Linked DNA regions of Homo sapiens: region 2 is linked to region 1. Evidence: promoter capture Hi-C in 16 types of primary human blood cells and fetal thymus (Javierre and others, 2016). All regions are on one chromosome and are shown on one strand. Each heading gives the region's core, a stretch centred on a gene start or on the middle of the fragment in contact. The rest is flanking DNA. Distances are from core to core; before and after follow the strand shown.

Region 1 (5,732 bases), core at 1,840-4,339:
TAAGGACAAGAACAGAAGAGTTTTCCATACAATGCGCAATTTAACTGCAGAAAGTCACGCTGCCCAAATAAAACATCAACTGAACAATCTGAAGGTGGGCCCAGAACTCAGTCTTCAGGGCCCAAGGCATCGAGCGGTGGGTGAGAAGAGTGTGCTTTTTAAAAGAGCTCCGCAGCGTCCCCTGCTGCCAGCTCCTAATATTTAAACACAGCTCTCTCCTCTCTGGCCTCCAAAAGGGGAGGAGAGCAGGCTGGCCCTTCCTGAGCTTCAATCAAGGGTCAGGCGCCTGCTCACTGGACCCGCTTAAAGGAACCCAAGCCCACTAGGCTTCTGTAGAGAGGATGGAGAGGCTAGCGGGGCAGTGAGAGAATATATAAGGGGAAAGAGAAAGACTAAAAGATGGAAACAGAAAGAGCCCAGGAAATAATACCAGGACTTCCCATAAAATGTCAATTAAGCGTAACCACCACGGTGACAATAAGGTATCATAAAGCTCTTTCCAAAAGAACTTTGCGTACTTTCAAAATGCTATGTGCAACATACCCCACGTTGAAAAGAGAAGAGGGAAACTGATTTAAAACATTATGAACCAAGACAGTGGAATGCTCTCTACTTTGTCCTGAGAAGACTGGAACATTCAAGTCCACTTCTGCAGCAGTGAGGTTGCTAGTTTCTATTTAAAAACTTGTCTTTGATATCAAAATGACTGCACATGAATCTCACCTTCTCAGAAGAAAATAGGAAGTCGTTGGGCAACATTATTTGAATTTAAATCGCCTCGTTCTCTGAAGGAACGTTTGGAAGAAAAAAATACAGGCCTTCCCCACGCCTCTCCTTAGCTTTTTAACCTGAAAAAGCGCCTGGAAGCTGGATCGGCAGACTCCCAGGTCGCATGATGGGTGACAGCCAAGTGCAGACACAGAGTCAAGGGCTACCAATCCTGAGCCAAACCTTCTCCCACTGAATGGGACTATCAACTGGGACAAGTAGCTGTTTCTGTAGTCCACAGCTAGAGGCGGGGGAGGGGACCCTGTAGACCTGCAATTCAATATCAAAACTGTAACTGACACAAGTTACTCTTAAATAGATAAATTAAAATGAAACAAAAACCTGGCCTAATAAGGAACAGTGAGTTTCACCTGGTCGGCTGACTCCATTCCTTCCCAAGTCCTCAAACCAGGTGGCATCTTTTAAACGAGTCCAGGATCTGGAGCAAGGAGGAATCTCCCTGCCAGCCGGTGGGGACTGCTGGGAACACATATGCTAGCATGTCATTTGGAAGTCTGCTAATATGTTGTAAGCAGCACAAGACGCTTGCCTGGCTTCCCAGGCCAATAAACAATGCCATTCCAACTCCTGCAGCAGTCAATAGGAAACAGTCCCTTTTCTCCACCATCCAACAATTGAACAAACATTTGTTCCTGTTGAACAACCGTCAGCCTGGCTCCATCTGCACCCGCTCCTGCAAGGCGAGCGCGGCGGCGAAGGCGACGGCACAAATGCCCACCCCAGGATCCCAGACCCGGAATGCAAGCCATTCCGGGGGCCACTTTCCTAACACCACCGAGTCCGGAGATTGTACCGTATGGAAGACTCGGAGTGTGGCCTATAGGAGGCAGAATCCCATTCATCAAACGCTGCAAAGAGCTTTTCTTTGTTCACCATCGTCCTAAGTACAGTACGTGTTAATGAGCCCGGGCGGTCAGATGGAAGGAGCTCGGCTTCAGGGGGCGTCCGAACGCGAGGGACCCGGGCAAACCTGTCCGCGCGGTTCGTCGCTGCTGCGGCGCCCCGGCCCGTACTACAAGCATTGTTCCCCAAGTCCGAAAATGGGGGTGGAGAGCTGGGGGCTGGGGGACAAGGTGGGGGGGCGGGGGGAGCGAGAACACACTTGGGACAACACAAACCGCAAACCCTCCCCGGATTCTGGGTGTCCTCGTTTCTTTCGTCTCTGCCCCAAGAGAAACCCTGAGCGGGGAACCTGACTCCCACGGGCTTGCAAAATCCAAGACTAGCAAAAATGTGACTCGACCAGTGTGCCTGTGCCGGACGGCCCTTCTCGCCATGTGCAAAAGCCACGCCGGCGCGGACGCCCCCACTCCGCAAGCCCCAGCGGTGGCCTCCCCGCGGGCTTCCCCCGCCCGGGACAGAATGCCCCCTCACCCCCATCCTGACCGCCCCGGACAGTCCAGCAGCAGCGGAGCCCGCCGCCTCGCTCCCGCACCCCGGGGGTGGCGGGTGCAAACTTCCGCGAACAAAAGAGTTGTCTGCAAACGATGCGGGAACTTCGGGGCGAATGGGGCCGCCCGGCTCCCGAGACTCCGCGCCTCCTCCGCAGCGGCTAGTCAGGGCTCAAGTTGAGACGCGGAGAGGACACCCCCGGGCGCAGCAGTCCCCGCGCCCGCCCGCCCTGGCCTGGGGAGCGCAGACTTTTCCGCCGCAGCCAGGCTTGTTCTTCCCCATGCCTGTGCTCTGACAAGTCTCACGCCTGCATCAGGGGCGAGACCGAGCGCCCGGAGAAACCGCCCGACCCAACCCAAAGGCGAAACAAGGCAGAAAAAAAGGAAACCAGCAACATTAGGAAAAAAGAAAAAAAAAAGGCAAGCCCATTGCGCACGCGAGCCGGGCTCCCTCCAGCCAGCGGCCGGGACGCACACGGCCCGGACCTCGCTCGGGGCCAGCCCCCCGGCCACCGCCGCCGCCGCCCGGCCCCGGGTCGCTTACTGTGCGCGGCGGGGCGCTCCGGGCGCGGACCCCGCGCCGTCACCGCCAGCGCTCGCCAAGTCGTCCGGGGTGCCCGCCGCGCGTCCGCCGCGCGCACGCTCGCCTGCCGGCGCCGAGCGCTTTGTACGAGCGACTCCCGGGGAGGAGGAAATCGACTTGTCACTTCCTGAAGTGTTTGCAACTCGTCCCTTTAACCGGCACCGGCCAGGCCGCCCGCACCCGCCGCCGCCGCGGAGCCGCCAGACCGCGGCTGCGTGAACTCGGCCCGGCGCTTAGCGGGCGGTGTCGCGGGCCCGGGCGCTAGGCGCGGCGGCGGCGTGCAGGAGGCAGGCGGCGTGCGGCGGCGGCGGCAGGCGAGTGTGCAGTGCGCGCAGCCGCCGATGGGCGGGGAGTGAGGGACTCGCGGCGCGCCGCCGGCGGGGCTAGAGGGCGTCCTGCGGGCTCAGCCGCGCGCCGCTCGCCGCGCTCGCGCCTGCGAGGCCCCGGGACGCGGGAAGTGGCCCCGGGCCTGGGCCGCGCCACCGCGGCTGCCCGGGCCCCGCGCCAGAGGCCCTACGGGCTTCTCTCCCCGCCCCCAGCACGAGCCGGGATGAAAACGCTGGGCCGCATAGGCTTCAGGCGTCCAGCTTCCGGGTTGTTAGATGCCGAGGTTCAAAAGAAACGATCACTTCAGTGGCGTGCAGGACAGCGGGCGGGTGGGGTCGGGGAGGGGGGACCTTAAAGTGTTGTCACACTTTGGGAAAATAAAGCGCAAATTTCCTAACTCGGGGCGCTGTGACTGTGTACTTCAGAAGCCACATCCAAAATACATGCAACTGGCGAAGGAAGGATTTGTGGTTGCTAAGCAGAGGCAGAGCATGTTTAGTTCTGTAACTTAGGATGTTGACTTAAGTTCAGGAATGTAACCCTGATAGAATAAGCAGAGTATTTTCATTGTGCTGCTCACCTGGGGGAGGGGGATTGTTTTCCTTGTGAAGCCCTAGATTTCCCATTACTCCTTCCTACTGGTGTATGTTATTTTATTGACCTTGTATCCAAAAAGCGATTTTTAAAGAGAAGTTTTTTTAAAACTCCCTATGCCTGTTTTGTGTTCTCCTTTGCCAAAAAAACAAAACACCTCATTACTTTACATGGATTGTGTCTGCGCCATTTGAATGGTTCTATTCATAAATAAGGAAACTTTTTCTGTTGCTTCTAGGAACATTTAATTGGTTTTAATCCAATGTTTCAATCCCAGTATCAAACATAAATGAACAATTAACTTCTTGAGCTTTGTGTGCTTGGGAAACTATTATATTTCATGGCTATTGCTGAAATATTTCAGAATATCATCACACCGGACCCATTCTTTTCAGAAAAGCATGAACTGACATCTCCTTTCACACTACAGCTCGCTCCACTGAGTTCTGCTGCATGATTAGAATGGACAGCAATCAGTGGAAAGGATATGAGTCTATTCATTTCAAGTTACATGATGTGGGATAGAGTCAGTTCATCCTAGAAAGCCAAAATGAGCTAACATACAGAATACAGCATACTAAGATATTGATATCCTTACCCATATACGTTGCTTTTTAAAAATGCATTAAGGACCAATCTTGAAAGGAACAAGATCCAAGAACCGATGGTGAACAAAAGAAGGCCCAAGGAATAATCTAAGAATGCTGCTATGCTTAACGAAAAGAGTCAGTGTTTCCCTAAAGCCATCTGATATCACACAATCACCTCAGCCTTTCAGAGCTTTAAGGACAGAGTTTAATTTACTAACGTTTTATTAGGAAGCCTAGAGTGACTCCTGCTGGCAAACATTCAGTTTATTCCTACAATTACTAGTTCATCAGGTCAACTTAAAAAACAAGATGCAGGGTCCCAGGCCTGGAAACAATTATTACAACCATTATTCTTGTTGCTTTCAGGATGATTTGCGTTTCACATTCCAAGGATGGTGGTCATGGCCAGTTCCTCTGCTGTAACACCTCCTTTCCAACCTAAAGCAGCCTGTTTTTCTGGTTCTGAGGCTTTCTTGAGGCTGTCTAGAATATACTTGCTTAAGAAGTTATGCTATTAACCAATAAATAGTTACTTCTCATTTTCTAGATTTGTATCTCCAAAGGCTAAAAAGATATGCATACATTAAGACCTGTGTCACACTTAACCTTCCATACTATAGGTTCTTCCCACATGATATAATAATCCTACAGCTATATTATAAAACATCCTCACTTCTTAGTGCTCAGCTCCATAGTTCTTTACTAAGAAAAAATTCTACCCAAAAGGTTGTTGTTATATTAGAGTTCTGCTCAATTCAGAAGAGTAGCTAAAAATGTAGAACTCTAGATTTAAAGCTATGTAAAAGCTGCAATGGGGTGGGGACATGGAGCTAAACTGTCTATCTTTGTTCAATCCAAAATGGTCAAAACCAGATTTTGCACACAACCAGACACCTAAATGCAAATTCATAGGCCAATTTAGGAATAAATCCATAAATAATCTAAAAACTATTACTTGTAACTTTTCCATTATCACCAACCAACGCTAACCTGATTAAGCCGGAGAACACCCTGGGAAATATAAAATGCAGGGATTACTTGCAGTCTTTTACATCAAGACCAATATATGACGGCCCGGCACAGTGGCTCACGCCTGTAATCCCAGCACTTTAGGAGGTCAAGGCGGGCGGATCACTTGAGGTCAGGAGTTTGAGACTAGCCTGGCCAACATGGTGAAACCTCATCTCTATTAAAAATACAAAAATTAGCCAGGCATGGTGGCAGACACCTGTAATCCCAGCTACTCAGGAGTATGAGGCAGGAGAATCGCTTGAACCTGAGAGGCAGAGGTTGCAGTGAGCCAAGATCGCACCACTGCACTCCAGCCTGGGTGACAGAAAAAGACTCCATCTCAAAAAACAAACAAACAAACAAACAAAAAATATATGAAAGCCAGGGATAAAACACAGCAATCCTAGTTCTCCCAAAGGAGGACTACCAAATAGAGGCACACTTGTG
Region 2 (5,732 bases), core at 1,684-4,183, 2.4 Mb before region 1:
CGCGGCGGTCGCGGGGCCGACGAGCTCCTCGGCGTCTCCGCCCCCCGAGAAATCCCGCTCGGGGCGCGGTGCGCGCAGCTGCCCGGGGATTCCCGGTGGCGCCGGTCGGAGCGCCTCCCTCCAGGGCTGTGCCCGCGGGGCGCGCGTCCCCGGGCATCCTTTCCTGGTGTTTAATGCATTTTGGCTTCAGGACTTGCCGAGGCCGAAGCCGGCTCCGCCCTGGGCCCTGAAGTCGGGCGGTGTCCGCGATTTACCTCCGCACCTTCGGGGCAGGTGGCCAGAGGCAGCGTTGAAAGCGACTTGCCCAAGGTCACGCAGGTGGCACCGGGGAGGCGACCAGACCCAGGTCTTTCGACGCCGAGGCCAGCTGCCAACCGCAGAGCTTTGGGGCCGTCTTGAGTGGTTTGTGGTTTGTTTCAGATGCTTTCTATTGACCTCCTGGAAAGAGGGGAAAGTGTGTCATAATGAAAGCGGTCCTGTTGCTTATAGTGTTTACCGCCTTTGGTAGAATTCTGGTGAGGCTGTGCCCCCGCGCAGAGCATCTACCGTGGTCTGGGCGTATAAATAATGAAACTCCTTTGCTCTCTGGGGGCAGTACAAGAAGAGGTTCAAGGAACAAATAAATATCCAGGCAGTTTCTGCGTTTTCCTCGTCTGTTTGTTTCACCTTCCAATTCTGCAGTACTGGTTTTCTTATTTTACAATTGATCGTTGTTTTAATAAGATTTTCTTTGTTTTAATGAAGTCATTGCCCCTTGTGAGTTAGTTTTCTAAATAGAAAATCTTATTTCCTGTGTGTTTAATGACTGGAACAAATAGTGCACTATGAGGTTTACACCATTGTCTTTCATCTTAGAACTCCTGATCAATCTGCTTTATTTTCCCAAGTACTCAGCTTGCATACTTTCTATGTTAATTTGATGCCACTGAAACCATTTACAGCAAAGTTTGGGTAAGAGTTATGTGATTGTTTTGTGAAACTGTGTTTTTCTTCACAATCTGAAGAACTTGAAGACCCGTTATATTAAAATAATAAGATTTATTCTGATCAAAATACCTGTTTACTTTTCATGCTCTTAATTTTTCCTGTTGACACACTTGTGGCAAAAGAAATATTTCCCCTAGTGGAGTTAAAGTATTTTTTATCTTGGCCAATTTTCCCAAGGAAAATTGCATTTTAGAGTACTGATACATTTAAAAAAGAGTATTTAAGTTTGACAGAATTTGAATTAATAAAGTAGTTAATTTATTTTATACTGCCGTAAACCTTACACTGTATCTACTGACAGTTTTCTCTTGTAGCGTATACCTGTATCAAGATATATGGCTGTGAATTTAGTGACATTAAGAAGATATATATATATATATATATATATATATATATAATATAAATATATGTGTATACACACCGCGCGGGCGCGCGCAGAGCTTCCAATCTTTATCTTGTTAATTAGTATTTTCATTGTCGCTTTGGGAGGGGGGAAAGTAGCAGGTTTGTATCTTTTTTTCTCCCCAGTTTTAGCAGTGTAACAAAATAGGAAAGATGGTGTGTAAAATTGAGTTTGTCATAGACTAGGAGAGACAGTGAAACAGGATAAGTATACAATTGTGAGGAAACTGCCATGAGTTCATAAGCCGGAAGGACCTTTTTAGAAGTGTTTAAGGATGTTAAGAATAGCATTGGATTCTTTTCTTTAAAAGTCATTCAAGTATCGTTTGCTAACATATAGGATATGACAATATTGACCACTCCTAGGAAGATACTTGGGAAAGGTGGAAACATTTTACATTTTTATGGGGACTTCCCCCCACAAAAAACATTTAATGGAGATTTAAACAAAGTGGCTTTTTGACTTAAGCCTGGAAGTTCTTTATTATTATTAGTCATGCTGCAAATCCCGAAGTTATTTTAATTGTGTGATAATTTGTAACCCAGAATGAAATCTAATAAATAGTTTATTAATATAATTTAAGTCATACTTTGACATTGACATATTGCTTGATGTCAAGTCATTATTGTTTAAATAACTTATTTGAGAATGGGGAAGATAGTTTTCTGAATATAGTGTAGTAATTATTTGTGACAATAGTAACATTGCTTTTATTAGAAAATTTTGGGTTGATATAACTAACTGCCTTAAAGTATTTCCTATTTGATTCCAACTGTGAGCTGAGGTAATATGCAAATAATTACTTTTCTCATGCTGGAGCAGTTTACTTTTGTTAATATTAAAATTTAAATTTCAAGATTAAAAAATCTTGTTTTAGATCTGCAATGATACAATAAAATGACTTCAATAGGAGTTAAATATTAAGATTTGGTTTTAGGTTTTTTGACCATTTGTGAGTACACATCCAGCATTTAAGAATTTATTGACATGGTGTCTGAAAGGAATGCTTTCAGAAAGGGCAGAAAACTTGGTAGCTTTAGATGATTGTTTATAATGCTTAATTATTTTTAGAAACATAAAAATATGGGATGTTTTTATGTAAACATAAAGCATCCTGTTATTTGTTATAGCACTAGAACTCTCTTACACTTACTGAGCAATATTAAACCATTTGACCCTAAGTAACTTTTTTTCTTGTGGGTACTGTCTAATAAGGGATATGTGAGTTTGTGATTCCTAGAAGATGCTTAAGCAAACATATGTTTGCTATTTATTTTAGTAAGCCTTTTAATTAGTTGAATTGATAATATTCAGGAAGATAGGGTTTTTGGGATTTTATAAGCTTTCTTTGAACTGGAATTTCTGTTGGATATAAAAGAAAATTAGTCATTTAAGATTTTTTTAAGTTAAATAAGTTTTAGAGCAAAATATTGTTTCCTACATGGAACTCTTACCAGGCTTGTCAGTCTGATAGCTTTATTCTCCAGAAAGTTGTGGTTTTTAGCCCTTTAGGCAGCCTAGCCTTTTATGGTTTAACCATTGAACTCTAGATTCTGGATTGAATTTAACCTCTTGAAGGAAAAGACGATCACAGGCACTAGAATTGGAAGTGATGTCAGAGGGCTTCTAATGTAGCATCTTACCCGGTACAGTAAATCCCTCCTGAGAATTTCCATGTCAGGTGTTCCCTCCCATTATTAAGGATGAGAATGCTATTGCATATGTCATCAGGTTATTCAGCAGTCCAAGCTTACTGAGAACAAACACAAGAGTTTTAATGAGTTTTAATTTTCACTATTCACTGCCTTTAACTGTATTTTGTAGGCTCTTTCCCACCCCCCTGTCCCCCACCCCCCATAACATCATGGGTAAATGATAGCTTTTCTGTCATTTACAGTTATCAAAAAGCTCTAGGCTGGGCTCAGTGGCTCATGCCTGTAATCCCAGCACTTCAGAAAGCCGAGGTGGGAGGATAGCTTGAGCCCAGGAGTTTGAGACCAGCCTGGGCAACATGACGAAACCTTGTCTCTACAGAAAATAGAAAAATCAGCCGGGCGTGGTGGCATGTGCCTGTAGTCCCAGCTAGTTGGGAGGCTGTTGTAGGAGGATCCCTTGAGCCTGGGAGGCAGAGGTTCCAGTGAACAGAGACTGTGCTGTGGCACTCCAGCCTGGGTGACAGGAGAGTGAGACCCTGTCTCCAAAAAAAAAAAAAAAACAGAAAAACAAAAACAAAAAATTGCAGTCTATTCCAGTTTGAACATTCAATCTCATATATATTCAATTTAAAGGTTTTTTTTCCCTTCCTTACCCTGTGGTCAGGCCACTTACTTACTGAAGCACTTGGGGTATGGACGGCTTGTGGTAAGCTCCTGGGATACTTCTTTCCTTTCCCTCTTAAGGGATCTATTTGGATACAAATGTGTCAAGAAGAGAAGTAGAAAAAGACAAGTGTTTGTTATCTGGTGCTATTAGAGTCCTCTCTTGATTAACAGTGGCAGGCCATTGCAGTCTACTAATAGGCAACCAAACTGGCATTTTTGGTGAGATCTTGCAGGGAGACTCCTGCTGCACAGTTTCTGGGTATGAAATTTTCTGTAGCTAAACCTTTTCCAACCTACACACCCATCTGCTTGCTCCCATCCTGTCAGTTTACCCACTGGTTACGTGAATGTGTGTGAGTCGGGGTGGAGATCTTTTCTCTCTGCAGCGAGATATTTTGATAATGGCAAAACAACTTCAATCCAGGTACGCTGTGGTTTCTATTCAACCCACTGGAAACTCACTTCCTTGTGATGTCGAATAGTGGCATACAGACTACTTAAGTCTGCCTTCTTTCTGTGCCCTGCCATTTCTCATCAATTCTCTTTGTCCCCCTTTTCAAGTAGACACATGGGGTCAGTCACTCAGTCTGCTGCATAAGCAGATGTGGAACTGGAGAATGGGATGCAAGTCTGTTCTAGGCTCCTCTGATCTTCATGAGTGATTTCTGTTAGAGGCCCCTGCCACTGTTTTGGTGAAGACCTCCTTCTTTTCCCTGCGTTCTCCCTGAAGACTTACAGTTCTTTCCCTCTCTTCTGTCAACTGCTCTTGCAGAGTGGAAGGATGGTGCTGATTAGGGTGCCAGAGCCATGCCTGACTCTACAGATATTTGATCCTCTATGTCTATATATCCTCAGCTTTGTGTTTGTCAGTGATTGTGGGGCAACAGGACTAGTCCCACTCGACATGTTTTAACAAATAATAGTGAAGTCTTGTGGGCCTGTTGAGGTCTCACTGTACAGAATTTAATTTTTCTTTGCTTTTTCTTATATCACTCAGGCTGTTTCTGTGTTTTGCCTTATTTTTTGGCTTCCTGGTTCCTGACTGATGAGGTGTTAACTGTAATTATGTTAATTTATGACTGATTTGTAAGATCTAACTATACCTTAGAGTATGAGTAAAGCTGAAGGAGAAATTTGGGTTGGGAGGCATGTTAATAATATAATTGTGTCTGGTTTTGCCTCATGTAAGTTTCACTAAAAATATAAATTTAAGTGGAAATACAGTATTTGAAACTTTTTCCTTCCATTATTTAAATAAATCAGTTAAATCTGGTAAATGATTCTTGTCTGATGAGGAAGAAACAACTTTCTATCTGGAAACTTAACGTTAATCTTTGATGCAGTAATTATGGGTTACTTCATCCGTCGTTCAACAAATAGTTACTGAGGGTCTTGCATGTGACAGCCACTGTGTTAGGCATTGGAGAAACAACAGTAAATAACAAATCCCTGCTGTCATGGAGCCTACATTACAGTGTGGGGAAACAGACAAGAATCAGGTAAATAAGTAAACTGTATCATTCATTAGATAATCAATAAATGCTAAGGAGAAGAATAACATGGGGAACCAAGGTGGAAGTAGCAAAACGGTTTGGAGGATTTGCAATTTTAGATAAGATCTAAAAGGCAGTGTTCACTGAGAACGTGACTTTGAGTTACAAGTCCCCGAGTGGGAATCTTGTCTGGTGAGTCCAGCGGCCAAATGAATGAGTAAGGTGGGTATTGGGATGGGGTAACAGGGCAGACGAGGCTTAGTGGTCTTTATGAGGGCTTTGGTTTTTAGGTTTTTACTTTGAGTGAGATGGGATCCCATTGAAACAGGTTGTCAACCTTGGCCGAACATTAGAATGATTGGGGAAGCTTTAAAAAAGTACTGATGCCTGGATCCCATCCCAGAATTTCTGATTTAATTGGTCGGCGGTGGTGGGGGAGGTGGTGTTTTAACGTAGGCATCAGGAATTTTTAAAATTCCCAGGTAATTCTGATAAGTGGCCAAGGTTGACATCTATTGCACTGAAGAG

Evidence for each region. Contacts are between HindIII fragments. The CHiCAGO score rates a contact against its expected background, and 5 or more counts as called.
Region 2: a contact is called between a fragment that was not itself captured here and the fragment with the promoter of FAM53B in region 1, in 2 of 17 cell types (non-activated CD4 T cells and activated CD4 T cells). The highest score is 7.6, in non-activated CD4 T cells.

What each region holds. Positions count from the first base shown.
Region 1 is chr10:124,741,289-124,747,020 of GRCh38, forward strand. It overlaps FAM53B (family with sequence similarity 53 member B), which reads right to left and starts at 3,090. Exons shown (of 5, transcript NM_014661.4): 1 at 2,725-3,090. RefSeq lists an enhancer at 1-91 and silencers at 1,969-2,048, 2,139-2,348, 2,669-2,828, 2,879-2,988, 3,009-3,058 and 1 more. The HindIII fragment of the contact is 7,750 bases long and covers 1-5,732 here.
Region 2 is chr10:122,375,151-122,380,882 of GRCh38, forward strand. All of the region lies in intron 1 of PLEKHA1 (pleckstrin homology domain containing A1), which reads left to right. Among named protein-coding and RNA genes, the nearest start is that of PLEKHA1, 3.3 kb to the left of the region's middle. RefSeq lists a silencer at 1-165. The HindIII fragment of the contact is 407 bases long and covers 2,731-3,137 here.